6 separate regions of the Homo sapiens genome follow, and regions 1, 2, 3, 4 and 5 are each linked to region 6. Evidence: promoter capture Hi-C in 16 types of primary human blood cells and fetal thymus (Javierre and others, 2016). All regions are on one chromosome and are shown on one strand. Each heading gives the region's core, a stretch centred on a gene start or on the middle of the fragment in contact. The rest is flanking DNA. Distances are from core to core; before and after follow the strand shown.

Region 1 (4,497 bases), core at 368-2,867, 410 kb before region 6:
TTTTCTGCTTAATTGCTTAGTGTTTCCCCAAAATTCTTGTAAACCTCTCTATGTCTTCATTCTTTTAAGTTGCCCCATTGTCTCTGGGTAATGTGTAATGTAATAGAAACCTCTAGAAAATGTTTCTTTCTTCCCAATACTATCACCAGAGTATTCTGTATTTATCTCATTTCAAGGAAAATGAAGCACAGAGAAATTGACTATGCCCTGTATACGCACTAAGGGATCGGGGCACAGAAAGGGGAGAAGTCGTGCAGGGATTCTAATGATCAAACCTGTATCTTTTATGAGATGCAAGTCATTCCTTTGCAATCAGTAGGCAGAAAAAAATCCAAGTTTCCTCAGAAGAAATTACCTACACAAACAGATTCTTACCGGTGGACCTAAAATGCTTTTCACAGGCAATAGTGAAACAGAGGAAATTCACGCTGGCAGGCTTTTTTCCTTGTAAGCTTTGTAAATGTGAAGGCAAGGGGGATAAATGAGAAGAAATAAAAGCTTTCTTTAAGTCTTACTTACTAATGGTTTTTGTCACAGCTTTATAAAAACAGCTCAGGTCTAATCAAAAGTGCAATTTGGCTGGACTTTTACAGCATCAACAGCCTTAGGAGAACACATTTCACTCCTAAAGTTGACATTTAAGCAATGCCCCTTGGTCTGGCCTTCAGAACCACAGCCCACCTTTAAAAACCAGGGTTGGGCCCTGGGTGGAGCTCTCCATGCCTCAGGTTACCTTCTTGCACTCCTTGGGTGGAATATTAAAATATGACCAGCCCAGTTTCTCAGTGCTTCTCCTGGGCAAAGGCATTTCATCATGGGCACACTAGTCGGAGTTAGCTGGGCCCTGCCTCTTCCGTGACTGTGTGGTTTCCCGACTTGGGCCCATTAAACTGAAATAATAGTCAGTTATTAAATTGTGTTCAGATACTAAATCCATTGGTGTGCATTTAACTAAGTCTGGGTTGTGTTTATAAATGGTGAGGGATGGAAGCTGGCCTAATTTTTTTCTTTGAAAAATAACGGTAAAGGAGGATTTTCCTTTATAGTGCATATTTATATTTATACTATATATTATATAATACACATTAATATAAATTATGTATTTATGCTATTATATTTACTATATTGCTTGAACTTTTACAATTAGAATATATCCATTGTGTAATTTAACAGACATTTGGAAAAAGGTGAAGGTCACATTAATGTTCAGAGTTTTTAAAAATAGCATGGATAGGTTCATTTCAAAGAAAGCTCTGGATACTGTATTAGTCCCTTTTTTTGCCACTAATAAAGACATACCCAAGACTGGGTAATTTCAAAAGAAAGAGGTTTAATGGACTCACAGTTCCACGTGGCTTACAATCATGGCGGAAGGCGAAAGGCACATCTTACATGGAGGCAGGCAAGAGAGAGAATGAGAACGAAGTGAAAGGGGAAACCCCTTATAAAAACCATCAGATCTTGTGAGACTTATTCACTACATGAGAACAGTATGGGGGAAACAGCCCCTATGATTCAATTATCTCCCACTGGGTTCCTCCCACAACATGCGGGAATTATAGGAGCTACAATTCAAGATGAGGTTTGGGTGGGGACACAGCCAAACCGTGTGAGATGCACTGATTAAGAAGACTTTATAGCAGACCATCCATAATCATACTTTGCAGAGGTAGCCTCTGATGATACTTAGATGTATGGCATTTCATCCTTTTATTGTTCTCCTAAAGATATACACATATACACATATATAGAATTACATATTTGCTGTTTTGAAACTATCCTATGCTCTTTCACCTAAAAATATATTATAAATGCCTTTGCATTTGTGGAAAAAAATTTATATATAAATATATATATATATGCATATACATACATGCACCAACCTAATATATGAAATATGAAATAAATTTTAAAGTGGCAAAGTATTTCATTGTTACTTGACCCTGTTAATCCCAGATTTTTCTAATATAAACAATACTGAAAATAATATTTCTGTCCAAACATTTTTGTGCTCATGCCCTGTTACCATCATGGGATAAACCCCCATATAAAAAATTGCTGGATCAAAGGGCATATCTTTTCAAAGGCTTTCCACACCTATTGCCAAATTGCTCTCCAGAAAAGTACTGTTTCTTCCTCCAGCGGTGTGTGAGAGTCCATTTCCCCAGGCTCCAGACAATGTGGGCATTAGAATTCTTTTTACTCTTTACCAATTTGATAGGCAAAAATGAAATGGTGACTCATTGTTTTTATTTGATAGGCAAATATAAAATGGTGCATTATTACTTTTGTTAAAGAAATTATATCCTCATATTTTTCCTGTTGGACTGTTTATCCTTTCTAATTTAGTTGCAGAATTTCTTCGTGTTAAGAATACCAATTATTTGTCTTTCATAATGTTACAAAAGTTTCTCAGTTTTAATTTTTCTCAATTTGGTTTACTTCTAAAGATTTTAATTTGTCTGTAGTTAAACTTGTCAGTCTTTTTCTTTATGGTTTCTACCACTCATGACATTTGCTACACTATTGATTGCATGTTTTGTGGTATATTTCATAGATGGAATATAGGCTAGTACATACCCTGAGTCAGTTCAGATTCCAGACTGAGCGCTGTGTGTGCTAAATAGCTTTGAAAGAATGATGAGATTTCTGCTAGAATTGTGACAGAGATCCTGAGTGTTAAGAGCCTCAGATGTACTCACAGGTATCCAGAACACATAGGTGTTTACAGGGAATAAAAGCTTTATAATGTATCTCATAAATGTCACTGAAACATCGGTGTGGCACATGGGTATATTCTAGAGATAATCAATATCTTCCGTCCCACATGTTCTTCTTACCATGTGACTTTGACCCTAGTCCCATGGAGAAGTGGGGTCTGTGCTCTCTCCCCTTGAATCTGGGCATTCTTGGCATTACAGAGGAGGTGACACTGTGTGACTTCAGAGGATGGGTTATCAGAAGGCACCAAGCTTCTTCCTGGTCCTCTTGGTACACTTGCCTTTGAATCCCTGGTCCTCCAGGTAAGAGTCTGACGGCTCTGAAGCCACAGTGAGTAAGTGCAAACTAGCCCACAAGGAGAGACCCCACAGAGGGAACCTGAACTAACTGGGAAAGATGGACAAGAAATTATCAAGTAGTGTGATAGGAAATATACCTAATATTGTGATAACATATAAGAAGAGACCCGACCTAGCCTTGGGGATCAGAGGAGGCTTCCTGGGGGAGCTGATGCAGGGACTGAGTGAGATCTGAAGGACAAGTAGCAGCAGGGGATGTGGGGCAGACTTAGCATGGAGGGAACTCCAGCCAGAGGTGGCAGCAGGAGTGACTAAGGCCGGGAGGCAGGGGTGATTCGGTCTATTAAAAGAAAAGGAAACAGTTCAGTGTGGCTAAGAATGGAGCAGAAATGGTACAGAGATGAGTGATGAAGCTGGAGAGATAAGAAAGGAATAGATGACGAAGGACCCTGTTTACCAGGTTGAGAAGTAGATAGAAATGTGTGTATTTTCAGCGAAATTTTTATCATTAGCATTTCCAGGCCTTGCTAGGATTTAGATATAAAATGTGGGACTTGGACAGTCTGGGTATTTTTCTTTTTTTTTTTTTTTTTTTGTAAAAGTGATTCCATCTGTCTTGGTTTGCCCTTCCTGGGGGTACTTTTTCTCATCCCACGGGAAGCTGTGCCTTTGTCTTTAAGCCTTTGGCCTAAAGCTTAGCTTCTCAATGGGGGCTATGTCCCATTCTCCTTTGTGCCCCCAGAATGCCTAGGACAAAGACAGCCCTTGTCCTGTTCAATGCTTGCTGCTTTGTGGTGTCTTAACTTGCCCATCCCTGTCCTCCCTCTCTCTCTCTTTTTTCTTCTCCTGTCCCCTCCTTTCCCTACTCAGAACTTCTTTGTAGTCAACCCACACATATGAATCACAGTAGCATCTCCCAAAGGGGAAACCCCCCTGCCAACCAGCTGGTCCAGCCTCATTCCATTAACATTGCTGAGTGTGAACTTCCCCGCTACATGACCAATTTCATTATGTATGAGACTCAGATGCTGCCCCTGAAGAATTCTGAAGGAGGGCTTTTGGGAGTACAGCCCAGTGTGGCTAAGCACGCCTCTCTCATTTGGCCAAACTCCTCCAAATCCTCATCTTTCGCATCATCTTCCATCTTGTTTTCCTTTTCCTAGAGAATCTGATTTTTTGCCTTCAAGTCCCATTTATTGTCAAGTATGTGTATCTGGCCTCAGAGTGAAAAGAAGAACTTACCCAATTGGTGAGAAAGATAGTCTCCCCATAGAGTGCTTAGAGAAAAAGATCAGTTCAAGATAAAGAGAAATTAGAGTTTAGAGCTCGAATGATGGAAATCCTTTAGACCAAGACTGAACAAACATTTTCCTTAAAGGACCAGATGATGAATATTTAGACTTTGTGGGTCATAACGTTTCTATCACAACTCTGCCTTTGTAGCAAGAAAATAGTCATTGCCAGTATCTAAACAAAT
Region 2 (4,865 bases), core at 118-2,617, 260 kb before region 6:
CAAGGCTGCAGAGAGCTCTGATCACACCACTGCCCTCCAGCCTGGGTGACACAGCGAGACCTTGTCTCAAAAAAATAAAAAATAAAATAAGGTATCTCAGTCCAAAATCAGATCAGTTTCCTTCGAATTTCAAAAAAGGAAGTGAAGTAAACATGATTATTTTCTTGAAAAAGACACCACAAATATACCAAAATGGAAAATATTTTGTGGAAGAGAGAAGAAATTTACTCTAGATTGTTTCAGAAGAAGGAACTAGAATCAAAGGGTGAAGCCAGAGGAAGGAAGATTTTGATGCAGAACTGAGAACTCATTAATTAGAGATTCCTTGCAAAGTATGAGTCCCCCATTACTGGTGGTTAATAGCAAACAGATGACCATGTGTTTGAAAGGAAGAGAAAACAGAAAGATTTTAATAAAAATAAATAGGTTTATTTAAGGTTTAAATAAAATAAAAGCTTTTTTTTATTTTTTTACATCTCCCAAGTCTCCATCATTCACAGAAAGATAATTTCTACATTAAATTTGAACCAAACTGAAAGGCAGACTAGATAATCTTTAAGGCAAAGTAGCTATATCATTTTTGTCCCAACTGAGCACTTTTGAGAGAAAAGAAGTGATAATAATTACACCGAGACAGGGGCTTTCAGGTTAAACTGAAATGTATGGTCATCCTACTCTAGGGTCTCTTCCAACTCTTTGACACTAACTAACCTCTATGTTCCTCAACCTTAAGTGTTTAATCCTTGCTTCGGGGGCTAAACTGTTTCAGCACCTACCTTTGACTGGCTTAATTAAAATGGTCAGACATTCTGGTGTATAACAATCTTTCTTTGAATGGCTGAAGCAGAGAGGAGGAGAAATGCCAAATTCCCCCAATAATTGGTCCTTGGAGAAAAGAGAGAAGTGAGCACAGGTAATTGGAAGCCTACAAGGTACATGGCACTGGCAACCCCAGAATTATTTTGAGCTGCAGTTAGCAGCATACCTAGGTGATTACTACTTGGATATTTCAGTGTTTCCCAAGTGTAGCTGGAATGTGTGGCTCTGATTGGTTTTCCAGCTGGAAATGTTACAGAAACAGGAAGATTTCTGCTTTCAAGTGTCTTGTTGCATCCTGCCTCTGCTTGGCAGAAGCTCTGGTCTGACAGTCATGTACATCTCTTCCGCTGTGCTTTAGGATGGACATGAGTAATTTAGGGTGAGCTACAGCAACACTCACAGAATCACCCCCACAACAAAAAAGGCCACCCCCAAATACACCCTGTGTGGTTTTACTATGGACAATCACAGGGCCATCAGCTGGAAACAGGTGGTAGAGAAGATTTTAAAGGTAGGCTTTTGTAGATACCCATTGATGTGATATGATTTTTTCAGGGTCCCTGCCTTTTCTGAATATCTCTTCATTGGCCTCTCAAAAGTACCATGGGCTAAGGCATCATGCTCTTATATTTCCTATTGGAATGCATAAGCATTTTATCCTAGAAGTAAGACAGGAATTGACTTGTGATCAATAGTGTTTATATTCCTGCACCCAGATTAGAAACTCTCCCAGGGCAGAGAGTCTTTTTATATTTTTGTGTGTTCTCAGGGCTTGGCAAAGAGTAGGGGGTAATGGTGGTGGTATAATAGTGTTGATAGTAATCATCATAATGGCTATCTTTTTTTAAAAGAGAAGTTGTTTATTATAAACAGAAAGGGCAGGGCTTCCAAGAGAAGTTAGGAGAATTTTGAGAGGGAAAGAAACCTTGTAATGACCCACAGATGCCATCAAATGCGGACCCAGTTAGGACTGCACAGCAAATAATTTTGAGCAGCTGGAAAGCACCGGGTCTATGAATGAGACTTAGTCTATTTCTGCTACTACAACAAAATACCTTAGACTTGGTAATTTATAAAAAACAGAAATTTGTTTCTTACAGTTCTGGAGGCTGGGGAGTCCAAGATAAAAACACCAGCATTTGCTGTCTGGTAAGTGCCTTTTTGCTGCAAACTCACGTGGCAGAAAGAGCAAATGCTGTGTTCTCACATGATGGAAGGACGAAAAGGGACAAACAGATTCCCTTAAGCCCTTGTATAAGGGCACGAATCCCATTCATGAGGGCAGAGTCTTCATGATCTAATCACCTCCTAAAGGCCCCACCCTTAATATTATTGCAGTAGGAATTCATTCTCAAATTGAAGTTTGGAGGGAGAAAGGGAAAGATCTAAAGTAGATTAGAAGCCTCTGAAACAAATTAAATAGAGCTGAAGACAAACCATGCCTGGTTAGAAGTTTTACCTAAAGCTTGGGAAACAAACAGAGAGAACAAAGGTGACCCTATACCTGAACAGAGAACCAGGTCACATTCCCAGAAACCAAGAAGATGAGCTCTTTCTAGAGAGGTTTGTGTGTCAATTAATGGGTGATTGATTTAAACTGCAAGGAGAGATCATGTGTTCTAAGGCATCCTTATTAAACTCTGGCAATTGAGCAGCAGGGAAGAACAAAATGTGCAGATTATCTAAAAGCTAAATGGTGATAGCTTCAACTCTTTGTACCTTCAAGAAAGCCAGTACTTTGAAGTTGTTGTAGCATCAATCCAGCATCAAGCTCCTCACCACAGTCAAAATCAGAGAATGTATTCTGTTTTTACAGGGCAGCAAAATAGATATTTCACAGCGACTCTTGACTTGTTAAACTAGCCTCATCTCTAAGCTTTCCAAATAACAGCCAATAAGACGGCAACAACAAAAGCTCCTGGAATGAAACCAAACTATTGTTTGAGGAGCAATGTCCAGGCCTGGACACCTCCCTGGGTACTGAGCTGATAAGGACAGTAGTAACGAGGCAGCTTTCATATTAAGTATCAGCCAGGGCAGGTACATTCTAGGGGTCCAACGCACTTCCCAGGTGCCCAGAAGCACACCTTCAAGCAACTTGAAATAGGTAGGTACCCTGGGGACCTGAGTACTGCTGGCAGACTAGCGAAGCTCCAGAAATAGAACACGTGCAGGCTTCTTTCTAGCAAAGGTTATGGGTTGTCCAGAAAATCCAGCAGGCAAGGTAAGAATAACTTGGCATAACAGGTGCTGTGGGCAGTTACAAACTGAAGAATAACCTACATATGAGTGTCTACTGAAGAAAGCACAATGTACCTCCCTCCTGATGGACCAGAGATGTTACCATCTTCATGAAGGATGCCAATAGCTAATAAGCATCACTAAACACTGCTTTTTCCAATAGAAAACACTGTACTAGGAGCCAGGAGACTTTGGCTGCAGTCCCCACTTTGCCACCAACTTGCCCTGTGAGCCTGGACAAGTTACTTTTCTCTTAATTTCCATGCCCGAGCAGTGAGTTAATGATACCTTCCTTTCCGGCTCCAATTAAGTATTGATGACAGGGCTGGGTGCAGTGGTTCATGCCTATGATCCCAGCACTTTGGGAGGCCAAGGTGGGAGGAACACCTGAGGTCAGGTGTTGGAGACCAGCCTGGCCAACATGGCAAAACCCTGTCTCTACTAAACATACAAAATTAGCTGGGTATGGTGGTGGGATCCTGTAATCCCAGCTCTCGGGAGGCTGAGGCAGGAGAATCACTTGAACCCGGGAGGTGGACACACCTTTGTACTCCAGCTTGGGCAACAAGAGTGAAACTCTGTATCAAAAAAAAAAAAAAAAAGTCTTGATCACAGGAGTATTGAATGAAATAATGTCTGTGAAAATTAGACAGTAGAATTCAAATGTAAGTCATTGTTATAATTCAACTGAAGACAGTTTTGTAGGATAAAAGCTAAACTAGTGGACCAGGTGCAGTGGCTCACACCTCTAATCCTAGCACTTTAGGAGGCCAAGGCCAGTGGATCGCTTGGCCCCAGGAGATTGAGACCCGCCTGGGCAACATGATGAAACCCCGGCTCAAAAAAAAATACACACAAAAAAAATTGGCCAAGCATGGTGGCACATGCCTGTGGTCCCAGCTACTCCAGAGGGTGAGGTGGGAGGATCATCTGAGACAGGGAGGTCAAGGCTGCAGTGAGCCAGGATTGTGCCACTGCACTCCAGCCTGGGTGACAGAGTGAGACCCTGTTTAGGAAACAAACAAACAACTAAACTAAATAATAGTGTTATATGTTGAAAGAGGCAAAACAGAAAATCCTTGCAAATGTTTCTCAACTAAGAAGACAACTTCAAATCATTTGTCTTCTAAATAGTACCTAATGCCATGAAAAGAGCCTGCCAATGCCTTCCAAACAATCCTATTTATCACTTGAAAACTCAGGCGATGTGGCTGGAATTGATGAGACTGTTTACTCTATGATTTCCATCCCTACCTTCCCTCCCTAATACGGTACACAGAAGTGGGTGAGTGTAACTCCTGGCAAATGAATAGACAGGAGTGCCAAATCCCAGGACCAGCTACTATCCCCTCACCTCCATTCCCCTGTCCCAGAATCATACAGACTCTGAAACTTGCGTGTTTTCCTATAATCTTCAACATGTGCACTCATTTCTACTCCTCCTTTCATAATTGAGTAGTGAAGAAGATAATTTATAAACACTCATGCCTCCATGGCTCCAAAAAGAAATTTGAAGTTCCAAAGAGGCATGGAGGCAGAACGTATTTAAACATAACCAGGGGGTGGTGGTAGAAAGCTGCAGGCCTCAGAAGGAATTTACTTGAGACTATGTGGGCTCTGCCTCTACAAAGTCCAGCTGCTGTGAACTATTCATTTGTTGGCAGAATTTGCACTGAGTCCATGGGACAAACATTTTCTCTCTAGAAGTTTCCCTGGATTATCTCTTCAGGCTTTATCATCCATTTATAAGATTAAAAATCATATCACATAAAACTTGACTCTAGAAATATGAAACTAACCAATGT
Region 3 (5,012 bases), core at 191-2,690, 440 kb before region 6:
CCCCAGCAGCCTGTCACCAACCCAGAGGCTCTGAAGACAGTGGCCCTGGGAGAGACAGGACTTCTCTTTTCAAAGTAAACACTGACAAAAACCACTTAAGATGTCCATGGTCAGGAGATGACACTAAGAGTAATTAAAATCAAATTCTGAATCCTCTTCTAGCACTCACATCACAAATCATGGTGCCAGGAAGGGAAATAGACCAAGTAAACAGGCAATGTCAGGGAAAGGCCTGAAAGTAGGCTCTGAAGACAATGTCAGTCTTTAGAGTGATCCAGTCAGGAGGCAGGACAGCGGGGATATTTATACCCCTGCAACAGTAGGTCCTTAGTTGAGGACACCTCCCAGCAAAATGTAAACTTCCAGGTATGTTCCTACTCTGCTAACATATTGGTTCCAGCAGTCATTGATGTCATTTACAGCATGGAAATTCTCTGGCTAAGAGAAACAGAAGCTGGTTGTTGGGATGAGACTAGACAGGTGCTTGCCAATGGTAGAGGGACCCAGGCATGGGTGGAGCACTGACACCAAGAGCTGTCCCAGATGTCCTCAGGTCCAAAGCTCGTGCTTCCCCACTGGCACATGCCCTTGCCACAGACACGGCTAGAAGGCTATAGGCGTTCTGCATTCACAGGCTGCCATCCTGGAGGCAGGGTTGGTGGGGGCAGGGCCTATTTATAATGCCATCTCAGGGGACAAAGAAGGGGCAAAAACCCATTGTTCTTATGCCGCACAGTCACAGAAAGCCTCAACTTTTAAGCTTGTGGGTATAGCAGAGATAAAATTAGAGGATGGAAAGATGTCACCATTCAATTTTAAATTCCCAGACCCAGACTGTCTCTAAGGCACTATAAATTAATATTTTCTACATTTCCTAAAATTATCTTGTAATTAGCCCATTTATATTGTGTGACACTTCCTTCTGTGATGGGCCATTTTTGGTTTATTTTTAGAATTAATAGATTATGAACAGAATGTAACAATGATTTAAATCATAATAGTTATGATATTCTGTTTTATCAATTTTTAAATTATATTATTTTGCTACAAAATTTTTGATGTCTTGTTTCAGACCAATATTTTTAATAGCGTTTTGTGTATAAACATCAGCAAAGTGTGACATTTCTTATTAAATGAATCATTTTCTTAAATATAAATATTAGGCCACAATTTTCATTAGCTAGTTTTGGTATCTTTCATTGTTAACACACAGGAAACTTTGATATAAGAAGAGGGAAAATGAGCTCTCTGAACTCCTGAGATGGCTGCAGAGACAGCAGAGTTGACACACAGCAGGGGCATAGGCACCTTCCTGGACAGAGAAGAAAGCCCGGGAAGAGGTCAGTCTCAGAAGCAGGAGGTCCTGCACCTCCTGGCCACCACGGCCACAAGCTCTTCAGGAGCTGGGCCCAGAAGTGCAGGAAGGCAACATACGTCCAGGAAATGTTGGTTGGCTAGATGAAAGGATGAAGCGTCCTAATGACCCATGGACGGTGAGGACAGTTCCAGCCCAGGCAAAGGGCCTTTGAATCTGGAGGGGCTAGGCCAGCAGCCTGAATCATCTAGGTTTAAAGACAGCAGAAAGCCTGGCTCACAGCAGTGTGAAAGGACTCCAACCTGGGCACCTTCCCCAGCTTCATGGCCTGGGTTCCAAAGGGATTGACCTCTGACTCTTCATACCCACCTCAGGGGTAGCTGCCTGGGATACCCAGGCTCTGCCTTGGACCCTTGGAAGTTGGAGGAGCCCAGCAGTCTGAAGGAATATGCATGCTCTTGACTCTATTTACAGCTGGTCTCCAAACTTTTTCTCAGTATCTGTATCGGGTAAAAATATATATATATATATATATATATATAAAATATATAATATATAATATATATATATATATTATATATAATATATATATATACACATTCCCAATATTGGCAAGACAGAATTGTGACCTAGCTCATTGAATTCTTAACCCATGATGATATATGTGTAATGGTCTCCAGAGGGGCTATATCAGAATAACTTGATTTCAGTTCTGTTCAGCATGTCACTGGCCCCTTACTGAGTGCCAAGCACTGTGCTGTGTTCTGGGATCCAAAGTCGAATAAGACCTATTCCTTGTCTTGGAGAAGCTTATGATCCTGTGGGGAAAATAGCCCATATCTATAAGGTAAGGGCATAAATCAGGGAGTAAAGCCAGGGTTTAATGCTAGGTCACATGGGAACCTTAGGCTGGAGTGAAGCTCAATTCATCTATCTTTAAGAAGATTGAATATAATTATCATCCCAACTACCGAATGTACTAACGGAAGTGGGAATATCAGAGTGTGAAGGCAAAATCTTATTTTAAGTGCAATAGGAATGTATTTTTAGACTTGAAGCAAGGAGCTCTGGCTTGGGTGGGAGACTTGGATGGAAGTGGGAATTCATACCATTCTCTGCAGAGACCCAAGGGAGGCAAATCCTGAGCCATACTCTCTGGAGACAACATTCCAGTTTCTAAAATCTGATGTAAAGCTCACAGGGTTAGGAGACAGAGATAGGGAGGTAGTGTGCATCTACCCCCTTGGTAGGTGAGCTATGCCTTTGACCCTCTGAACAGAACTTTCAGAAAAAGAGATAGCCAGAAGCTGGTAAACAGGTGCAAAATTACAGCCAGGTAGAAGGAATAAGTTATAGGGTTCCATAACAATGTAGGATAACTATAATTAACAACAATGTATTATGTATTTTCAGATAGCTAGAAGAGGGGATTTTGAATGTTCCTCACACAGAAAAATGACACATGTTTGGGGTGATATATGCTAATTACCCTGACTTCATCATTACCCATTTTATACATGTATCAAAGTATCACACTGTACTCCCAAAATATGGACAATTATGTCAATTAAAAATAATAATAATAATAAGTCCAGAAACAAAGAGTTAAGTCACCAACTATTTTTTCCTTCTTGGTGAATTGATCTTCAGTAAGCCTTTTTTTCTTTTTCCCTTCCACCACCCCAACCCTGCTCTCTCTGTTTCCTTACCCAAGCTTGTGTCCTCTAGTTTTATGGGTGTTGCTATCGTCTCAGCTCCTGCCTGTAACTGCCCATTCAGCCTCTTTTTCATGCCCCTTCCCTGCAAGAAAACTGCTATAGCTGAATGTTATGTCCCCCAAAATTCAAATGGTGAAATGTAATCACAATGTGATGATACTACTAGGTGGGGTCTATGATCAGGTCATAAGGCTGCAGCCCTCGTGAATGGGACTAGTACCCTTATAAAAGAGGTCCCAGGGAGCTATTGTGCCTCTTTTACCATGTGAGGACACAGCAAGAAGGCATCACGTATAAGGAAGCAGGCTTTCACCAGACACTGTATCTGCTGGCACCTTGATTGTGGACTTCTCAGCTTCCAAAACTGTAAAAAACTAATTTATGTTGTTTATAAGCCACCTAGTTTATAATATTATTTTATAGTCACCCAAATAGACTAAGACAGAAACATCCAAAAGCGTTGGAAGCAGAAGATGCAAAGATAGTCCCATCACTTCTCAGAAACTCAGTCCCATGAGTGCTGGCCACTTCAACTGGGGAGGCTTAGTTTGGCTCAGCTTTGAGGAGGTGGTAAACAGCTTCCAAGTAATGGACTGAATATCTATGTCCCCCAAAATTCATATGTTGAAGCCTAACCCCCAATATGATGGTATTTGGAGGCGGGGCCTTTGGAAGGTAATTAGGTATAGATGAAATCACAAGAGTGGGAATCCCACGATGGGATTTGTGTCCTTAGAAGAAGAGGAAGAGAAACCAGAGCTTGCTCACTCTATTCTCCCACCTCTCCTTTTCTCTCTCTCTTCTTTCTTTCTCTTCCTCTCTCTCTCTCTGCCATGTGAGGCAACAATGAAAAAACAGCTGTGTATAAGCCAGGAAGAAGGCTGTCACCAAGAGCCCAACCATGCTGGTACTCTGATCTTGGACTTCTCAACCTTCAGAACTGTGAGAAATAAACATCTGTTGTTTAAGTCACCCAGTCTATCGTATTTTGTTATAGCAGCCCAAGCTGTCCAAACACAGGTTAAAATGGCTAAAACATTATGCAGTTTTTTACTCATTTTATTTTTCAAAATCCTCTCTCATTTAGAACATCTTTCAATTAACTTGAAAAATGACTCCTTATTATACTGTTACATATTTGCCACACAGAGAAAGTACAAACTATGGAGCAAAGAACTGCTAACTATTACCTCCATTCTGACTCTGGCAGGAGCTATGTTTCGAGGTAGTTCTGCCAATTAGTGGTTCTCAGACTGGGTTTCCCTATCACATAATCAGAATTCCTTGGGGTATGAACTATTCAGATTCTTGTCCTACCCTCCCCTGTCAGGGCAGAGTAGGTGAATGAAGGTAATTTTTTTTTTTCCTAATTGACATTTGGAACTCATTGCTCCAGAGAATATAAGTTGGAATTGCTTTTCTTCCCAATTTAGAAATTATCTAGTTTTCCTCAAGTCGTGAACATTCAGACTCTCTGAAAGCCTGTGTTTTCCCTCGAAACGGAATGACACATTGGCCCCCACTCCACCGCACACACAGTCGCCTCCCTCCTCCTCTGTTCACAGCCAAGCTCATGGCACATTGCCCAGCTGGTGAGCACGTTCTGGCTGCCCAACAGCTCTTCAGTCATCTCTTTAAAATTCATTATCCAAATGTGCAGAAATGATCATTTGGAGTTGCTATCATATTTCTCTGCAATGTGACACTCCTCTGACGGGATCATGTGTGGAGAAAACGTGCCCCTTTGACAGAGATGTTATTTCAGCAGGGTGTCTTCTTTCAAAGGGTTCTCCCTTTATCTGAACTATCAAATTGTTCCTAGTTCCATAAAAGCAGGGCAGCTATTGTGATGGAAATTTACATACACAGTGTAAATGCTGAGCTTGTTTGTTATTTGAAAGAAGCTGCTAGAGACTGAATAGATCAGGTGTGTCCTGGTCCTTCAATCAGGCCGTGGATTCAAAGGCTGGTCTTAAAGC
Region 4 (4,531 bases), core at 140-2,639, 510 kb before region 6:
TCATGTAGTGATTTGTCTTCTCTTTCTCTCGTTTTCCATCTTTCTTTTGTCTGTTGGCCTCGTTCTTTCCTCCTGCAACTGAGCTTTCCAATGGGACCAAGGAAGGTGCATAAGCAGCAACTCTAGGCTGACATGGTCTCACTCAGCAACCACAGTGGTGAGACAGCATCTATCTTTCCATGCACAGAAACCAGAGGACTTGCTCTGGCACTGCATGGGTCATGTGCCCAAGCCAGCCCAATCGCCTGTGCTCTAGTGGACCCAGGGTCTAGCAGGGGAAGAGAGTGGGTGGAGCAAGATGCTGTCAGTACTCCAACATCATCCCCTTACTCTTTCCTGTTTTCGTGCTCACCTGCCACACATCCAAGTGTCAGCCCCATGTCTCTTTGCCTAAGGGCTCTGCTGTCTGGCCTGTTTGCAAGATTGGCCAGAAGTGCCTGGGATCAGCCCTCCACCAGGGAGTTGGTGTATAAAGACCCCAACTTTCTTGGCCCTCGTCTGGGCTAGCGATAGCCTCATGCTTTACATTGCTCCCCTGGCTTCCCCAGCAGGTTTGAGCTCCTTGCTCACAGTGGTAACCAGCTTCAAGACACAGCCTTTACTGGATTTCTTCCTACTCCCGTCAGGTCTCCACTCTTCCCAGTGTCTGCTTGCACTCAAATCCTTGTCTCAGGGTTTGCTTCTGGGAAATCTCAAACTAGACGAGAAAGAACCCAAGTTCAGCCCCTCCAGGGCCATATGGAGTGGTGTGAGGCACTTCCCTTGAGGAAAGAAGGCACTGGGCAGAGTAAGGGAACAGAGGCCTACAATCTCTGCAGCCATCCTTATGGTCCTGGCACCAAGGCCCTTCTCTCTCTCTCCCGCTTTCAGTTAGGGGACAGGATCCCACTTCCAAGATGCCCACAATCACTTTTATTTTCCAGTATTCCAGGTTCCTAGACAAATGGCTTCCAATCAGTCCCCACTCTCCCCTCCCTACCACGGAAATACTGAAGCCTGGAGAGGCTGCTCCACTCACCCACGGGGGTCCTCTAGGCTCACCCATTCTTTCACTCCAATTTCGGACAAATAAATGCTTGATTTTTCAGATTTTCCAAGGGATATTTTTAGGATATATATAGGCAAAACTCATATCAAACTGCTATTTAGGAAATGTGTTTCTTAGTACTGTGCTTCCCCTCACATTGCCCTGCGACTGACTCTTTGAGATATTCCTAAACTGTTAGTAAACCAAGACTTATTGGTAAACTGAGGACAATACTCACATATTTGCCCCTCTGTGTTCTGTAACAGAACCTAGGGGGGTTTTTAGATGTTAATGTCTGCTTGTTCTTTCCAGGGATTCAAAATAATTCATTCCAGGGATTCAAAATAATTCATATTTTTATTTTTGAGACAGTCTCGCTCTGTCATCCAGGCTGGAGTGCAGTGGCGCAATCTCGGCTCACTGCAAGCTCCTGCCTCAGCCTCCTGACTAGCTGGGACTGCAGGTGCCCGCCACCATGTCTGGCTAATTTTTGTGTTTTTAGTAGAGCAGGATGGTCTCGATCTCCTGACCTCATGATCTGCCTGCCTCGGCCTCCCGAAGTGTTGGGATTACAGGCGTGAGCCACTGCGCCCAACCAGATTTTTTTAACATAAAAATTTTTCTATTAAAATTTTCTTTCAAGTATCATTAGCATTCATCAGAGAAAGCAAAGCCCAAAGCAAAAAATCAAAACCAGCTCAACCTATAATTTAACATTGAGAAATTTCCTCCATTTCCAGACCTCTGGCTTTTGATAGCACATGATATCCCACATTGGTTCAAAGAAATTCAGGAACTTGCTCCATACATGCGATGTTCAGAGAAACCTTCAGTCCCTTGTAGGACACAGCACTGTTCACACCTCTTAGAGGTCAGCCATATTACATAGGGCCACACTGTACAAAATACTAAGGGTGTGTCAGGGGGTGTGACCCTTTTCACTATATACAAGTCAATGATGTAACAGGTACTATATGTGCCTTTGGTAATATAACTTTTTAATTAGCTATATCTGCTGTCTTTGGGCAAGTTGTATTTTACATTGTGAATGTAAAAATTTAAACTTAGGTTTTAAAACATTTACAAACATTTTTGGAAAATACTTCAAATATTTTGCATTTTTCTGTGCCTTGGAAAGAGGATGGTGAAAGCATTTTGACTTATTCAGTTTGATGTCTTGATTTAGGGTTTTGATAAATAGCCATCATCACCACCATTATCTAAGCTATAAGAATGATGTTATCAAGCACTTTCAAAGTAGAGTTGTTTCATGTTCCCTTAAGCTGTTAGACTACTGTGCTCTGTGAGGTCCCCCTCTTTCTGCTTCCTCTCCCTCTTTTTTCTATGGTTCTCTAGCTGACTGTCCCTAAAAGCCAATGTTTTCCTTTGCTCTCATTAACTAACAGCAGATAGTACTTAGCACCCACTCTGTGACCAACACTAATGTAAGTCCTGGGACTTTGGCAGTGGACAAAGAGAGCAAGTCTTTGCCCTTATGGAGTTTACATTCTGGCAGTTGATGCCTACTTATCTTCTTTAGCTCCTCTCTTTTCCTTGTCCTCATATTCCAAACCAATGAAACAAGTAGAATTATGTTTACAGCATAAGCTCTGAACAAGGGCACAGGGTCTCATCCACGATTCATTTTTTATAAATTTCAGTGCATGCAGCATGTAATATGAATTTTTAGGTACTGAGAACTCTTCAGTTCTTTCTGGTTTCTCATTAGTGTGCTGGATGGTTCAATTTGTGGGACACTAGCCTTTGGATAAGTAGTGTCATTTAATTTGATTCACATAATACTTTGAAACAGACACTTCCCTTTCTGGCCCAATGGAAAAGACAGTGGCACGTGACATAAAAGGGTCTTATGAATTTTTGCTTAATATTCAGAAGAACTTTGTAGAATATATGATAAGAAGTGCAAATTGGGGCTGGCTTTGCTGGTGCACTCAGTTGGTTTGGCATTGAGCAGATTCCAAGGTGGAATCATAATGTCCCCAACAGCTATCTTGCAGCCCACCCCGACTATGCTTGTGCTGCAGCTTAGAGAAGAGAATCAGGCCCCAAGATCAAACTGTACTCTTTAGATTGTCCCATTTTGGGGAACAGCCTGGCAGCTGCCACCTGGTCAATCCCTCCATATTTGGCGCCTGGAACAAGGCAGCCTGCCAACCTGCCACCTGAGAGCTGTTTTTCATTGCTGACTTGGTCACTGATTTTTTTAAATTCCACTTGTTTTTCTTATATGTTCAAGTTTGGCCAAAAGGAAAAAATAGTCTTCAGTTATCCAAGTGATCATGCTGTGTACATACATAGGAAAGAAAACCTGAACTTTTTCTGGCTGCCTTACTGACTGCTGTAAATTGTCCTCCAGCATGCACAGAGTGGAGCCAGAATTTCCAAAGAAGGACTCCAACCAGGAAAATCTGGATGTGCCTTGCTTTTCAGAGAACTGCCCTCTGCTTTTTAGGCACCCCCCTGCCAACTCCACATCCATGGAAAAAATTTGACTTATTATGGTTGTTTTAAAAGAGACATTGTTGACTTCAGACAGAAGCTAGACTGCAATCTAAGGACCCAGAAGTGAGCAGAACTTCTAAGAAGTGAGTCAAAAGTAAAGCAGCCCATATACCGTCAGTGACAAAGTCAAAAAATAAAAGCCTCTTAAAAATATTTTTTGAAGTCATACATGACATTCTATGTCTCCAAACCATTTACCTGTAAGTAACTTTTAAAAATCTCCCCCAAGAAAGTATGCAGTTGAATCCTACAATATGAGGAATTTGAGGCTTTAATTATGGGAAGATAAATGTAGGGAAGGGGATCATAGGATTCTATTTTCCTCCCTCAGCACCTAAGCTACTGAGAGGCACTCAACTACTTCAGTCAAGAGGGATGCAAAGACCCCCCAAGCTAGCTTTTGAATCCATAAGACTTCTTGGTAGCGCAATATATGAAGCTTTTCCATGAGGGCTTAGGAAGAGAAAGGGACCCATGTTTCATAAACTTCTCTGCAAACACAATTAAGTTGCCAAAGACAAGCATCAGTTCTGAGTTAAGACAACAAATCTTTCATCTAGGTCTACCATACATAGCATGGCAGGAAAGGGGTCTCCTACCCAACTAACAGTTTGAGGACGGTCCAGTAGTCTTTGCGCATGGGGTGCTCACCTTAAGTTCTTAGGTCCAAAGTGAGGTCAGTGAGATAGATGGGAGTCCCCGCTTGCCTTACAGGAGCACATAGGTTAGGGTGAGGTGGAAAAACTTTACTCTCAGGTTTCGAAATGTGATTTTCCTGAAGCAGGTTAAAATACAGCTTTGCTAAGTCACATTGTAATTACATAGAATACTAAAATTTACACATAAAAATTCTTATGTGACTTGAAGTAATGTCTTATCAAGAAATTGTATTTCTATTTATGTGATTAATGAGTACTGATAGTTGTCTCAGTTTTAGTTATTGTTGCCTTTGAATATCTCGGCTTTCACTATGTTAATTGT
Region 5 (4,445 bases), core at 1,039-3,538, 320 kb before region 6:
ATCGGCTGTCCGCACTCAGTTTGGCATCAATATGGTGACCTCCTGGGAGCAAGGGACCACGAGGTTGCCTAAAGATGGGTGAACTGGTCACGGTCGAAAATGGAGCAGGTCAAAACTTCTATGCTGATCAGTAACAGGATTGTGCCTATGAATAACCACTGCACTCAAGCCTGGGCAACATAGCGAGACTCTGGTCTCTTAATAAAACAAAACACTCAAACTGGAGCTGAAGACAAAAAAAAAAAAAAAACCCACTCTATTGTAACTACTTAAAGAGTTGTTGACTAGGGATAAAGCACTCAAGTAGAACAATATCAGGAATCATCCAGACACAAAATACACTGGGGTATTTTTCTTGGCCTTTCTGATATCACACCCTCTATGTATATTTTTTTCTTCCCCCTGGCCTTGAGGAGAAATTGCTGGGAGAAAGTTGCCACCAGAATCTCTGGCCAAAGATCTATCTTTTTTCTATTCCACAGTAGTCTAGGGGTATAGCATTTGGCATCCTCAGCTTTTCATCATCTTTGAGGGGCCTTAGAAGCTACTGTGTACTTAGATTACTTATTAAGTGTCTACAGCAGTTCTACAGATGTAAGTTCCTTGCTGGAAAAATTTTTTTTTTCCTTAAACTGAACAAAGCCTGTTGGTGTAAATGAAACCTCAGAAAAAAAAAAAGAAAACACTCTTGTTCATTGTTATAGCTTTGCCTTTCTAGATGCTGCCACATGACCAAGTCGGACAGGTGGGAACCACTAACCATCTACCTAAGAGAGGAGTGATAGGTACTTCGGCCTCAGGTTTCAAACCTTGGATTTCAGAGTTTCTGTAAATGGAGAGAGGCATTGTTTCTGATAAGTGTCTCTGATAAAGCCACTTGGGAGGAAATAAAATCTTGTTACATGACTGGCTTTCCTTTTTACTTTTGCTTTTTCCTTACTTTTGGTAGCACTGATTCCGGGGGGAACGTGCTGTTTTCATTGGGTGTTTATGAAGAAATATTTTGTATTGTAAACTCAATTCAGTGAGGAGTGGTTCTCAACTGTGACGTCAGGACTCACTGATGAGTCTCAGTAAGTCATAGGGAGTGTCACAAATAAGTTGTTACTCATGATAGAATACCAAGGTGTCAGAATGAGTTCCATTACAAAAGACAAACTAGAGCTGACTCAATATTCTCACCATTTCAAAGTCATTCATAAACTCATGTATTCCAGTGTGTTTTCTTAAATGACAGAAAAAGAGACAGAATTACACCCAGTGAGTGGAATGACATACCTTCAAAATCCAACCACGGGCCACCTCACAACTATCAGGATGACTACAACAACAAGCAAAAAATACGAAAAACAACAAAACAGAAAATAAAGTGAGAATATGGAGAAATTCGAAATGCCTGTGCACTGCTGGTGGGAATGTTAAATGCTGCAGCCACTCTGAAAAGCAATATGGTGGCTCCTCAAAAAATTGAAAATAGAATCACCATATGATGTAACAATTCCATTTCTGGGTATATACCCAAAAGAATTGAAAGCAAGGTCTTGAAGAAATATTTGAACACCCACATTTATAGCAGTATTATTCACAATAGCCAATTGGTGGAAGTAACCCAAATGTCCACCCGTGGATGAATGAATAAACAAAATGTGGTACATATGTACAACAGAATATTATTCGGCCTTAAAAAAGGAGGAAATTCTGACACACACAACAATATGGATGAAGCTTGAGGACATGATGTTAAGTAAGATAAGCCAGTCATAAAAGGAAAAATACTGTATGAGAGTTACAGACAGAAAGGAGAGGGGTGGTTGATAATGTGAAGTTGTTGTTTAATGGGTACCGAGTTTCTGTTTTGCAAGATGAAAACGGTTCTGGAGACTGGCTACACAACAATATGAATGTATTTGACACTACCGCACTGTATAACTCAAAAATGGCTAATATGATCAATTTAATGCTATGTACATTTTACCACAATTTTAAATGTTTGTAATTTTTCAAAAAAGAGAACTACAACCATGGGCCCACGGAGTGTTTTGCATGTGAAGCATCACCCAGCACACATGCACAGTGGAGAAACTACTTTAGACAACGGAGTATCGGGAAGTTGTGGAGTATCGCTAAGACCGTCTTTTCTTACCCTCCTTTTTCTTCATCTCCTTCCTCATAGTCTATGAAAATTTATCACCAAAGCCTATTATTTGCAGAATCTTGCTGACTTGCCCTTTCTTTTCTGCCAGTGCAATCTCCATCCTCTCATAAAATCTACATTCTAACTCATCTCCTTGATTCTAGTTTTTCCTTCCCCTCCAATTCTTTCCTATGCCACTCCCATTGAAGTGTTTCTAAAACAGCCCTTATCCCGTATCTTTAGCTTGTCCAATAAGATATAAGAATTCCTCTTGAATCATTGCACCGGGTCTAACCTCAATACCCTTTACGAGCAGACCCTGTTCCTGTTGCTTCCTTCCACGAACTTTCATCCTAGCTGGAACAGATTCTTCACCAGTCTCACCTCTGTGCCTCATGCTAAATCTCCCCATCTTGAAATACAGTAGATCCCTGGTTTCATGTATTCGAAAGCCACCTGTAAGGCCTATGGCCTGTTCTTACCTGTCATGAATCTAAGCCCTGCACCCTGGAGTGGAGGCATGAGTGAGTCACTCTGCTAGGAGGGAAACTGCCACCCTCTGCATCTCAACATTGCCTTGTGGTTCTCTGCTTGTCATTTCGGAGGCAAAAACTCTCTTTGTGTTTCTGTTGTGGAAGAAATTATCATGATATTGGTGTAATTAGAAGCTCACAAATATCAGGGACCTATCAGACTTTCTTATTCTTTTCCACAATTTAAGCTTTTCCTCCTTCTAGAAGCCTTTCCCAGTGACTCTGACACTTGGTGTTTTCTCTCCTTTCTCTTTTCCAATGGCAAGAAAGGAACCTCTGACCCGCAAACAGGTAGCATAAGCTTCTATATGTTATCTATCTGATATAGTTTCTAAATTAATTTAGTTGAATAAACCTCACCACTTCAACCACAGTGTAGACTTTTTTGAAGATTAGAAACCAGGTCCTTACATCTCTTGCCTTCACATCACCAAGCACAAAGCTGGACACATTGCAGGTGCTCAATAAATATCATAAATTGTTGATCTAGAAACAGCACACTAAGGTCTCAAAAGAGTACATGAGAGCCATGGAGAAACAATGCGGTATAGTGATCCTCCTAGAGAGACACGTGTCTCCGAGGAGACATGGCCCCTTTCAAACAGCCACCTCAGTTCTCTTTTACTGCCCTATCCTTTCGCCGGGTTTCTCCTTTCAACCTTGAGAGATAACTGACATGGGCTTAGGATACTCAGTCATTCTGGAATTCTGTATCAGCACTGAAACATGAGTGGGGAAATTCTAAGAAATTTACTTCTCTTTTTCTTTTCATATTTTCCTCATTCCAAAGTGGAACTAAATCGAGGTTCCCTAGCAACCCAGGGCTCTGTGAAGATTCATTATTCTATAAAATCCCACCACCTTACAAACACAAAATGTTACAAGTTGCCCAGTCACCCCGGCTTCTGAGATGAAGAATATTATTGAAGTCAAATCTGGTGGCTATCACACTCCATGGAACTTGGGGCAACATTTAGGTACCTCTACCCAGGAAAGAATCTCTGAGAAATAGGTGGCAGTTTCTCTAGCAGCATAAGAAGAACCTTGATAAGCATCATCCTTAAGTCCTGACAGCAGTGGATGACTAGTCAGGAACCTGTCCAGGTAAGCGCACACCCTAGCAGGGCTCTGCTAAATGGCTCCAATGGCTCGGAGGCCTTACTGAACACTAGGGATTGATTTCTATTGAAAACCAAAAGGAAAATGAGAAACAATCGAAATCAGGGCTCCTTCCAACCCTGGCTCAATAGCCCTTTGTTTTGCATATTCTCTATGCAAGATGGTGAAATGTAGAGATACAATTAGAATATCAAGGCTAATGAAACTAATCATTTCAAATTAAGCCCATATACAACTGTGGCACCACAAAACTGCCTTCTCATCTCTGCTATCCTGGGGGAACATCCCAGATGCACAGGAAAAATTAGCTGTCTTTTCTGGAAATTAAAATGGTAAAATGCCTGATGCACAGAACATACTTCACAAATCTTAAGTGAGCCAAACGAGGCTTTTATCCCCTGACAGCAATCTTTCATGAGCTGGACAACTGTCCCCAGTGTGAGGCAGTGAAGTCTGGCTAGCACTCTGCACACAGGAATATCAAGGCCCCTTTTCCCTTTCATGCTTTGCCTCCTCAACCATACTCTCCCCTTTGTAATATCTCTGTCACTAAGGAAACCATGGTAACATCAGTGCTTCTGTTGAGCACAGTGGTCACTCAAAAGAGGCAGAGTGAGTTCAGCCTATCATTTGAGATCCGAGTATGATTGGGGAAATAT
Region 6 (4,815 bases), core at 30-2,529:
CTTCAGTTCACTTCATGCTCCTAACTCAGGCTCTCTGCCTCCAATGCTTAGCGTCCCGCACCCTTCTCCAGGTTTTGAACCTGATCTCAATCCAATCAAAAGAGAAACTAAGCAGATTTTTTTCTGGGCATTTACATTACCGGTAACAATAGAACATTATAAAGATCTTGTTAACAAAAGTAGCTTCTTGCCAGAGTCTTTTTATTAACACTTGCAACGCTATTTAACAAGCTGGCCATGCCTGTGTGACACCAAACCGCATGTGGATAAATTCAGTGTTTCATCTCCAGGCCCACCAATTCCTATCCTTTGTAACTAATAATGTTAACACGACAGATCAAGAAACTAGTTTTTCAGAAAGCAGTTTTCATTCATTCTCTATAGACATTTCCGCCGCAGTGAACATGCCCGCACTCAGGGTGTCTGTGCATGGCCCCAACTTTCCTCCAAGCCGGGGAGGATGCAACGTGGGCCAACCATCCCGCGCGCTCGGCCCTGGAGGCTGCGGGGAGCGACGCAGCGCGACATTCACCCCCAGGAAAGCGCTGCTTTCCGCAGAGGAGAGAGGCTGACTGTATCCTTAGCTCGGCTCCTCGCTTCCCCAGCGGCTCGCCCCAGACATTGCACCGCGGAGGGGAGGCCGGTCGACCTCTCCGGCGATGCCCGGCTTCTGCCTGCTGTGGGAGGGCAGCGGCGGGCACCGTGATCTCCGCACCGAGAAGAGCTCCCCTTGCCCTCTAGTCGAAGCTCCCGAGTGCTCGGAGCACGCTCACCCCTCGCGAACACACCCCTGCAGCCGAAGCAGCCCCTGAAGCCCGCAGCGCCTGCAACAGGTCCGGGGCAGTGGGGGAAACTTACAGCAGTGGCGACTGGCCGCAACGCACAACTGAGTTCTAGCGACGGTCACGGGCAAGGAGGCGACGAACCGGTCGTCTCAGCCCAGGGAAGCGGTGGCGAATGCCCCGGAGAAAGGAGGGCCAGCCGGGGAGAGGACTGCGCCCCGAACGATGGCTCGCGGACCGGCTACCGATGGCGTTCGCCTCCGTCTGTCGTCCCCACGCCGCGGACCCGGTGTCCAGGACCCGCAGAGCGTCTCCGGAGCGCGTCACGGTAGGGCAGAGCAAGCCTGCCACTGCAGGCGCCGCGGAAGGAGGCGGGCTGTGCGCTCGGGGGAGGGAGCTAGAAAGCGCCTTGTGTGCCGGCGGCCGCCAGGCGTCTGGACCGGGTCTCCGCAGCGCCACCGCCGCACCGCCTCCTCTCCGGCTGCCAGAGCAGTCTGCGCCCCGCCGCCGTGCGCCCCGCTATAAGTGGCGCGGCGGGGAGGGGAGGGGGCGCGTATGCAAAGAGACCGACACCGGGGGAGGGAGGAAGCGCATTAGCGCGGCCTGTGGTGTAGGAGGAGGAAGAGGAGGAGAAGGAGTGGGAGGAGGAGAGGAGCTAGAGAAGAGCGTGTCGGGGGAGTTAATCGGGAGAGGAAGCGGGAGAGGGGGGCTGCGGGGAGTGCAGAGAGACAAAGCGGACGCACTGTCTCAGCCGCTGGCAGCTGCAACCCCGGGAACCGAGAATAAAATAAGTTTTCCCGGGTTCGAGTGTCTGCGCCTCTTTGGGCCAGCCTGGTTAATGGACAGCCCCGGATCTGAGGGACCCACCTTAGGGGAGCGCAGCCCGGGGCTGTGCGCTTGGTGATGCCAGAGCCCGCGAGATGCTCTAAAAAGGGCTGCAAGGGGCGAGCTGGGTATCCGCAGGACAGGCCCTGGGCACGCATAGACAGCGCCTTGGGTAGGACACCCAGAGTGGGGAGAGATAGTGGCAATGGACGGGCAAAAGTCTGGACAGTTTAGGGACACTCGGGTTGAGCAAGCCAGGACGTTTAAGTTTCTTGCTGGCAGAGAGCCAAAGAGACTCCAGCCCCAGGCATTTCCTATGTGTCCTCCCTCCCCACTCCCCAGTGGGTGCGGCACCCCCGGCTGGACTCTGCCCTAAGCCAGGCGACTGCAGGGGCAGCCGGGGCGCAGTCCTGCGGGGCGCGCACCACGTGCTTTTCAGCCAATCGCCGCGGCCGCTTGATTCAAAGTGAACTCCTCAAAGCAGCAGCCACGCCGCCTCCTCTCCTAGCGATTAAGCCTCCATCACCTTCTCCTGTTTTTTATCGCTCGGTGGTGTTAGTTTGGAGTTCAGTAAAGAAATGGCCCAGCACACACACACGTTTAATAGTCCCGCGTGTCAGGAGAAGGGAAGGCGATTCGAAAAATAATCTCGCGTGGTGATCACTTTTACGAATCCCATTTATCTTTGCAACTAGAGGCTTGTCTTTCCACTGGGAGTTAAAATATCTGTCTTTTATTCGGTATTTGGAGCTAAGTCTATAAATGAACGGGATAGATGACCGGTCCAGCCCCCTTGTTTTACAGGTGGGGAACCGAGGCCCAGGGAGATGTGAATTGCCTGGCTCGTAGTCACTTAGCAACAATGTCCCAGCTCTGCAGCTCGAGAGTGAGGGCCCCACGACAGAGTTTATTCCGTCCCCGGGTCCCCGCGTCCCCAAGCGCCCGCGCTTCGCCTCCCAGCTTGCTTTAAAACACTAGGCGCAGGAGCGATTTAAACTGGCTAAGGAGGCCCCACATGGCGCTTCCAGAGTCCAGACTGCTGAAACCAAGACTGTCAGTTCTTCATTCTAATTTCATTTTCCTTTATCCTTGTTCCTTCCTGGTATTTGCGCCGAGAAATTTCGCTCCTTGCAAACAAAGAAAGACAGTGCCCTCTGAAGTCCTTTGTTAGCATTAACTCGGCAGCCTCACCACGAACCTTTCAATATATATATTTTTTAATGCAGAGTCTCGGCTTGAGGCTGATTCACAGAGACAGCCCGGATCAATTCATGTCAAGAACCACGTATGGAGAGCCAGGGGGGCTGCGAGGTTAGGAGAGGGCTGGCAAGCAGCACCCAGGTTCTGAAGCAAAGACCAGACAGATGGAAACTCTGTAGACTCCAGAGATAGGTGCTGAAAAGATGGGAGGCGGAAATGTGTAACTATTGCACATATGTCTTTTTAAAACATGTTTCTGTAGCCTGTGGCAAGGTGTGGGGGAGCTCATCAAGGCAGCCACCAACGCACCTTTTAGACACCTCCTAGACCCACTCTGTCTGCTTCCTTTGTGAGTCAAATCTACCTAAAACGGCACCTAGATGACCTTGCCTAGAAATGGACTATGTACATAGCTCAGCTGGTTGGTTGGGGATTTTGCCACAGGAAGCGACAGAACTAGGGACAGGTATGTATCTTTACCACCTAGAAATTGCGGGATGTCCTTAACCAAGGGAACAGCAAAGTTCAGATCCCTTTGCAAAGAACTTTGCTAAGCAGGCAGGGCTGAGAAAGGAAAGAAATCCGCTGGCCATTGTGTCACCATCCGCTGGTGCCACTTTCCTGTATCTTTTCTACCTAATGTTGCCACTTTCTATGCTTCAATAGAAGAAAGGGAAAAAAAGCTGTAGACTGGAAAATCTTGAAATGCATTCAGTGACCGTATACATTCGCTTCATCTGCCTCGGGGAGATAAGCAATACAAGAGAAAAGAAATTAGCTTATGTAAGTCCTAAAAACTGGAAAACATTTTCCTGCTGAAAGTCACAAGAACTAAACTTGCAAGTTTGGAAATCATGGGTGCTACTGATGACCTCCTACAAACTGTACTCTGGTTTGCTTGAGCCAATCTATGACTAGTTTTCGGGCAGTTGGGCAGTTTTTAATGCTTATCTCAGCTGAAAATGATTTGCAAGTTAGCAAATTTATGATCATAGCAATTCAAACGGTGTAATCCCACAGCATCTCTCAGCCAATCCTAAAGGTAACTCTTATCACCCCACTCACACAAAGAAAAGCTGAGCAAGTCTTCATTTTGTACAGGAAGAAACTTCTAAACAGGGCTGTCATCAAAACTGGACGACCATAGACATAGCAGATATCTGAGTCACAAACAAGTCAGGAAATGCTGCTTACACTGTATCCGCATTACACAATAGCCAACACTTCACACAAGACATTAGGCCAGTCCTGTAGGCCCTTGGGAGCAGGTCTTTGCCTCTGTCTTGTGACATCAAACCAAAGTCTCATTTTTTAATGCTATTAAGAAGCTGTGCCCAAGGCTTTGGGCTTGTTATCTCCCCTAACAATGTTATTTTGTTAGGCCGCAAAATAAGCAGCATGCGGTTAAATGTATTAGCTGCCTTCAAACCTAATTTATCTTCATTCCTTCCTAATTTACACTTGGGCTGAATTAATGAGAATGATTTAATTAACACGGTGCGATCATGGTACCAGGGACAGGACAGCTCAGGGAATTAGACCAAACAGTAGGCTAAGCAGCTGCCATCCTGCCTCCGGTGGTCTCCTGAAGCCCCACCCAAATTCAGACATGTTCCCTGCTGGTATTCCAAAAGCGCCCTCTTTGTTTTATGAGGACACTTTCTGAATCTGTGCAAGGAAGATAGCACAGCTTTCCTTCCCCGAGTTATTTGCTAGATGGACTTCAAGGCTGTGTCCTGGAGACAGAGTGTGGCAGAGGGGCCAACTGCCCACCAAAGATTTGTGCTCCCCTTCCATAGTGTCAAGTTCGTGTTGGGAAGTGGACGCCCAGTCAGGGACCACACCTCCCAGTAGCACATATGTTGCGATCAACATCCCTGAAGGGGAAGGGAGGGAAGCAGGGTGGACAGATGGAGATGCTGAGCTGGGATGTGGTCTCAGCCAAGCCTTGGCTGACGCCATGGGGACCTCTGGAGCTGAAATGGCCTCACAGGTTGTCTGCATTTAG

The links. The method cuts DNA at HindIII sites, captures the fragments that hold promoters and counts their contacts. A CHiCAGO score of 5 or more calls a contact.
Region 1: a fragment that was not itself captured here is called in contact with the fragment with the promoter of ENC1 in region 6 in 1 of 17 cell types (neutrophils); the score reaches 5.3 in neutrophils.
Region 2: a contact is called between a fragment that was not itself captured here and the fragment with the promoter of ENC1 in region 6, in 1 of 17 cell types (neutrophils). The highest score is 5.5, in neutrophils.
Region 3: a contact is called between a fragment that was not itself captured here and the fragment with the promoter of ENC1 in region 6, in 1 of 17 cell types (neutrophils). The highest score is 5.7, in neutrophils.
Region 4: a contact is called between a fragment that was not itself captured here and the fragment with the promoter of ENC1 in region 6, in 1 of 17 cell types (neutrophils). The highest score is 5.9, in neutrophils.
Region 5: a fragment that was not itself captured here is called in contact with the fragment with the promoter of ENC1 in region 6 in 1 of 17 cell types (M1 macrophages); the score reaches 5.9 in M1 macrophages.

What each region holds. Positions count from the first base shown.
Region 1 is chr5:74,228,558-74,233,054 of GRCh38, forward strand. No RefSeq gene overlaps it. Among named protein-coding and RNA genes, the nearest start is that of LINC01335, 78 kb to the right of the region's middle. The HindIII fragment of the contact is 2,243 bases long and covers 497-2,739 here.
Region 2 is chr5:74,377,621-74,382,485 of GRCh38, forward strand. The region is part of intron 2 of LINC01331 (long intergenic non-protein coding RNA 1331); the gene reads right to left. Among named protein-coding and RNA genes, the nearest start is that of LINC01333, 58 kb to the left of the region's middle. The HindIII fragment of the contact is 1,829 bases long and covers 454-2,282 here.
Region 3 is chr5:74,202,021-74,207,032 of GRCh38, forward strand. No RefSeq gene overlaps it. Among named protein-coding and RNA genes, the nearest start is that of LINC02122, 100 kb to the left of the region's middle. The HindIII fragment of the contact is 1,364 bases long and covers 759-2,122 here.
Region 4 is chr5:74,133,297-74,137,827 of GRCh38, forward strand. No RefSeq gene overlaps it. Among named protein-coding and RNA genes, the nearest start is that of LINC02122, 32 kb to the left of the region's middle. The HindIII fragment of the contact is 5,195 bases long and covers 1-3,987 here.
Region 5 is chr5:74,318,087-74,322,531 of GRCh38, forward strand. It overlaps LINC01333 (long intergenic non-protein coding RNA 1333), which reads left to right and starts at 3,501. Exons shown (of 5, transcript NR_197443.1): 1 at 3,501-3,771. It also overlaps the pseudogene RN7SL814P. The HindIII fragment of the contact is 1,130 bases long and covers 1,724-2,853 here.
Region 6 is chr5:74,639,449-74,644,263 of GRCh38, forward strand. ENC1 (ectodermal-neural cortex 1) reads right to left here and starts at 1,280. Exons shown (of 3, transcript NM_003633.4): 1 at 859-1,280. It also overlaps a transcript of HEXB not described here. RefSeq lists enhancers at 729-1,088, 1,550-2,265, 2,266-2,979 and silencers at 1,129-1,388, 3,896-4,190. The HindIII fragment of the contact is 20,564 bases long and covers 1-4,815 here.